2 separate regions of the Homo sapiens genome follow, and region 1 is linked to region 2. Evidence: promoter capture Hi-C in human tissues and cell types (Jung and others, 2019). All regions are on one chromosome and are shown on one strand. Each heading gives the region's core, a stretch centred on a gene start or on the middle of the fragment in contact. The rest is flanking DNA. Distances are from core to core; before and after follow the strand shown.

Region 1 (2,700 bases), core at 124-2,623, 170 kb before region 2:
CCCGTCTCTACTAAAAATACAAAAAATTAGCTGGGTGCGGTGGTGGGCGCCTGTAGTCCCAGCTACTCAGGAGGCTGAGGCAGGAGAATGGCGTGAACCTGGGAGGCGGAGCTTGCAGTGAGCCGAGATCGCACCACTGCACTCCAGCCTGGGCGACAGAGCGAGACTCCGTCTCGAAAAAAAAAAAAATCCACGCTTGAATGCATGCACACTCATACATGGACCTCCCCACACACATGAACACACCCGTGCAAGTGCGCACACACACATACACGCACCAATGCACAGGCACACACACATGCACACACCTGCACACAGCACATATATGCACACCCACTTGCACATGTGATGCATGTTCACACATACACACACGTGCACATGCATGCATGTACATGGACCACATGCACATGCACACAGATGACCATACACATATGCATGCACCTGCCCACATATGCACGCACATTTACATGCCAGCACATGTATGATACACAGGCATGCGCCTGCACATGTGTACATGATACACACTTGCATGCACACAACTGAATACACACATTCACATGCACACACTGCACACATATATGCATGCAGACAAGCACACACACAGAGCACACATCCACTCCTTTATTCCACTCTTGTGTTTTTCACTGCACTTGTCACATCAAAACACAACAGAAGGCCGGGCATGGTGCGGCTCACGTTTGTAATCCCAGCACTTTGGGAGGCTGAGGTGGGTGGATCGCTTGAGGTCAGGAGTTCGAGACCAGCCTGACCGACATGGTGAAAACCCATCTCTACTAAAAATACAAAAAGCAGCCAGGCGTGGTGGCACGCGCCTGTAATCCCCGCTACTTGGGAGGCTGAGGCAGGAGAATTGCTTGAACCCAGGAGGTGGAGGTTGTAGTAAGCTGAGATCGCGCCACTGCACTCCAGCCTGGGCAACAGAGCGAGACTCCATCTCAAAAACAAAACAAATAAACGAACAAAAAAACCCACAACGTATTATTTTCTTGTTTACGAGGTTTCTTGTCTCTCTGGCTCCACCAGAAGAGGAGCAGGGACCCTTCTTGCTGTTGTTCATTGCTGCATCCCCCACACCGAGAGCAGAGCCTGGCATGGGCAGAAAGTCCTCAGTCGATATTTGGTGGCCCCAAGCGAATGAAGCATCCAAGAAGGGAAAGCTGGGGGCTCCCCACTGCACTTGCCACCTGAGTCACATTTTCAGAAGCCTCTGGAAAGTGTGAGAGTCTGTATGAGTGAGAGTGAGACAGGGCCAAGACCGGGGGCGGCGGGTACCGGAAGAAGAGGAGGGTGAGTGGGGGAAGGGGTGGGGCTGAACCCCAGCTCTAAAGGCGGCCCACGGGTGCCTGTCCGCAGCGTGCACAGCCCAGGAGTGTTGAGCAATTTCGGTTTCCTCTGAGGTTGAAGGACCCAGGCGTGTCAGCCCTGCTCCAGACACCTTGGGCATGGAGGAGAGTGTCGTACGGCCCTCAGTGTTTGTGGTGGATGGACAGACCGACATCCCATTCACGAGGCTGGGACGAAGCCACCGGAGACAGTCGTGCAGTGTGGCCCGGGTGGGTCTGGGTCTCTTGCTGTTGCTGATGGGGGCCGGGCTGGCCGTCCAAGGCTGGTTCCTCCTGCAGCTGCACTGGCGTCTAGGAGAGATGGTCACCCGCCTGCCTGTGAGTGGGACCGGGGGGCTGAGAGCAGGTGGAGGTGAGGGGGGCTCCCCTGTGTCATTGTGGGTCACTGTGTGTCTGTGTGTGTGTGTGTGTGTGTGTGTGTGTGTGTGTGTAGGACAGGGCACAGGCTGAGAGCAGCTGGCTTGACTGGTTGCTGCTCCCAGCCTTGGGCAAGTGAATTCACCTCTCTGAACCTCAGTGTCTTCATCTACAAAATAAGGGCAGTCTCTTCATAGGGGACGAAGTATGCTATGGCATGTGTAGTACCAGACGATGCCAGCTCCACCCGTCGGAACTGACACCCCAACACTGCCATGCACACCCCTGTGCACACACGCATGCATTTTCTCTGTACTTTTTTATTTTTGAGACGGAGTTTCACTCTCGTTGCCCAGGCTGGAGTGCAATGGCATGATCTCTGCTCACCGCAACCTCTGCCTCCCGGGTTCAAGTGATTCTCCTGCCTCAGCCTCCCGAGTAGCTGGGATTACAGGCATGCGCCACCACGCCTGGCCAATTTTGTATTTTTAGTAGAGATGGGGCTTCTCTATGTTTGTCAGGCTGGTCTCAAACTCCCGACCTCAGGAGATCCACCCGCCTCAGCCTCCCAAAGTGCTGGGATTACAGGTGTGAGCCACTGCGCCTGGCCTTCTCTGGTACTCTTATTACTGTTACTGCGATTGTCATTAATTCTCTGACCATTTCCATCTGTGGAAATTTCTCGGTCTGCTTCCAGCTGGCTGTGGATGTGTCCGCCTGTCTGTGTGCCTCACCTGGGGGTCTATGTGTGCCCAACACCATACCCCTGTGGGCTTGGCCCCTTTTGTGTCCTGGGTCTGGATCCGGTGGCCACACATTCGTGTCCATATACCCATGTGGACGTATGTGCGTGTACCCACATGTCCACACACCCGCCTAGCTGCAGCCGGTGTATTCACGTTGTCTGTCTTTGTCTCTGGGTCTCTGTGTCTGTAGACGCACATGGATCCATAAACCACAAACCACATGTCCACGCATC
Region 2 (2,700 bases), core at 7-2,506:
AAATTAGCCAGGCGTGATGGCATGCACCTGCAGTCCCAGCTACTTGGGAGGCTGAGGTGAGAGGATTGCTTGAGCCCAGGACATTGAGGCTGCAGTGAGCTATGAGCATGCCACTGCACTACAGCCTGAGGGACAGAGCAAGACCCTGTCCGAAAATATATATATATAGGCCGGGCGCGTTGGCTCACGCCTGTAATCCCAGCACTTTGGGAGGCAGAGGTGGGCAGATGGCCTGAGGTCAGGAGTCTGAGACCAGCCTGAACAACATGGAGAAACTTTGTCTCTACTAAAAATACAAAAAAATTAGCCGGGCGTGGTGGCACATGCCTGTAATCCCAGCTACTCGGGAGGCTGAGGCAGGAGAATCGCTTGGACCTGGGAGGCTGAGGTTGTAGTGAGCCGAGATTGGGCCATTGCACTCCAGCCTGGGCGCCAAGAGCGAAACTCTGTCTCAAAAAAAAAAAAAAAAGGGTATAGATATAGATAAAGATAAATTACAATACTGGAGAGGAGGGGTGTTATTTTGGGAAAGCGAGGCAGCCCTGGGGACTCACTGTCCCCCTCCCAATATGAACCCAGCTGTCTTACTCCTCCACTCTCCTCCTTAGGCCAGGCTGGGGGTGACCCCACCTGGGACGAGCTCAATGCCCAGTAGAGGTGTACCAGGGGAGCCCACCAGCATCTGCACCCAATCATGGGAGGAAAATCGTGGTTTTACTATGCAGCTTCAGGACAAGCCCTCCAGGAACCTACCGCCCCCCACCCGCAAACCAGATCGCCGCTCCGGAGCCCCCAGCCCACTGGGAGGGCTCGCGGTTACTGCAAGGATTCTGGCGAATGAGGTCTAAATAGAATGAGAAGGGGGGCTGCGGACCGAGAAACTGAGGCAAGGCCTGGGGCGGGAGGGTGGAGGCTAAGGGGGAGGGGCAGGACTTCTCAGATGCCTGTTTACCAGGCGCTCCCCTCCCTTCCTCCGCCCAATTTCTGCGGGTGGCCAAGCCTGGCTGGGGGCTGGGACGGGGGAGACTGCACTGGTGGCTCCCTAAGGGGCCTCACCCCCAAGGCAGGGGTCGGAGCACGTGGCGTCCCGGACTTCTCTGGGAGGCCCCCTGGGGAGGGAGGTCCCTGCACCACCTCCCCCCACCCCAGCCCCCTCCATCATCCCGGGGCGGGACCAAGGGGCGGAGCGGGAGGGTGACCGGCCGTGACGCGTGCCCCGCCCGCTCATATAGCGGCTCCCGGGGGCGCAGGGACCGTGCTCCGCCGTCTCCGCCGCATCTTCCACCCTCGCCGCCGCCGCAGCTCCCCGCGCTCGTGCCACCGCCGCCGCGTCCACCCTCAGCGCCACCGCCATGCGGGAGATCGTGCACCTGCAGGCCGGCCAGTGCGGCAACCAGATCGGGGCCAAGGTGCTCGGGGAACGGGGCCCGGGGAGGCAGTGGCGGCCCCGGGGAGCACCGCGGGGTCGGTCCCCGGAGCACCCCGCAACCTGGGAGTCTTTGGAAAGGAATGAGGTCCCCAGGAGGCCAGCGCGCCCCAGGGGCCTTGGGGGAAGGGTCGCGGGGTGGGGGTGGCAGGGCCAGACTGGGAACAAAGAGGCTGCGGAGAGTGGGAGCCAGCCTTCTGTCCGCCTGTCACAGCTGGGCCCACAGCTGGGCCACTGTCCCCTCCTCACGCACAAAGAGCCCCGGTGCCTCCCCCGGGCTGCAGCCTGGGTGCGCTGGCACCAGCCGGCCCCGCTGGGTGCTGACTCGGCTGCACCCCGCCCCCACCGCTCCTTCTTGCTGCCTCATCCTCGCCCCGACACCATGCCTCTAGGTCCCCCGTTCACCTTGCTGGGGGAGAGGTGGCAGCTAGGGAGCTAGTTGGGGGCTGGGGGCAGTCCTCGGCTTGGCCACCGGCTTCCCCTCTCTCAACTCTTCCGACCACCTCTCTCTCTAGTTTTGGGAGGTTATCAGTGACGAACATGGCATCGACCCCACAGGCACATACCATGGGGACAGTGACCTGCAACTGGAGAGGATCAACGTGTACTACAACGAGGCCACAGGTAGGGCGAAGGAGGCACCTTCCAGGTGGGAAGGGGCAGCTGGGAGGGAACAGGATGCTACCGGGCGCCTGTGGTTCCTGGCACGCATCGAACTGCCCTCCATCTGTTTCCCTGCAGGAGGAAATTATGTCCCCAGAGCGGTGCTGGTGGACCTGGAACCCGGCACCATGGACTCTGTCCGTTCTGGCCCCTTCGGTCAGATCTTTCGGCCGGACAACTTCGTGTTTGGTGAGTCCCCCAGCAGGGAGCCAGAGGCTGGAAAACCTCCTTATTCCTGCTAACACCACAGAGTCAACAGCCACCACCGGGGCCCACAGACCAGAGATGGGGTGGACAGGGCACCAGGCACCAGCCCTGCATCCAGGGCTGTGATGAGGGGATGCTCAGGCCACTGTGAGAGCCCTGAGGAGGGCGGATACAGAGAAGGATTCAGGGAAGTCTTCCTGGAGGAGGTGGCATTTTAATTCAACGGTCTGAACCGGAACCAGACTGCCTGGGTGCACATCCCAATTCTGCCACTTCATGCATTCAACAAACAGTGAGCACTCACTGCATACCAGGCCCTGTTCTAGAAGCTGGAGATCCAGGTAAGAATCAAACAGCCGGAGCTCCCTCTCTGCCCCAGTGCAGCTCCCATTCTGGTAGAAGGT

The links. The method cuts DNA at HindIII sites, captures the fragments that hold promoters and counts their contacts. A contact is called where the count stands out against the background at its distance.
Region 1: a contact is called between the fragment with the promoter of TNFSF14 here and the fragment with the promoter of TUBB4A in region 2, in 2 of the 25 tissues and cell types used here (spleen and stomach).

Annotation. Positions count from the first base shown.
Region 1 is chr19:6,668,833-6,671,532 of GRCh38, reverse strand. TNFSF14 (TNF superfamily member 14) reads left to right here and starts at 1,373. Exons shown (of 4, transcript NM_001376887.1): 1 at 1,373-1,682. The coding sequence starts at 1,464. RefSeq lists a silencer at 244-343 and enhancers at 914-1,143, 1,524-1,613, 2,514-2,700. The HindIII fragment of the contact is 26,746 bases long and covers 1-2,700 here.
Region 2 is chr19:6,500,865-6,503,564 of GRCh38, reverse strand. TUBB4A (tubulin beta 4A class IVa) reads left to right here and starts at 1,256. Exons shown (of 4, transcript NM_006087.4): 1 at 1,256-1,409; 2 at 1,942-2,050; 3 at 2,168-2,278. The coding sequence starts at 1,353. RefSeq lists silencers at 1,000-1,269, 1,280-1,459, 1,630-1,739. The HindIII fragment of the contact is 15,381 bases long and covers 1-2,700 here.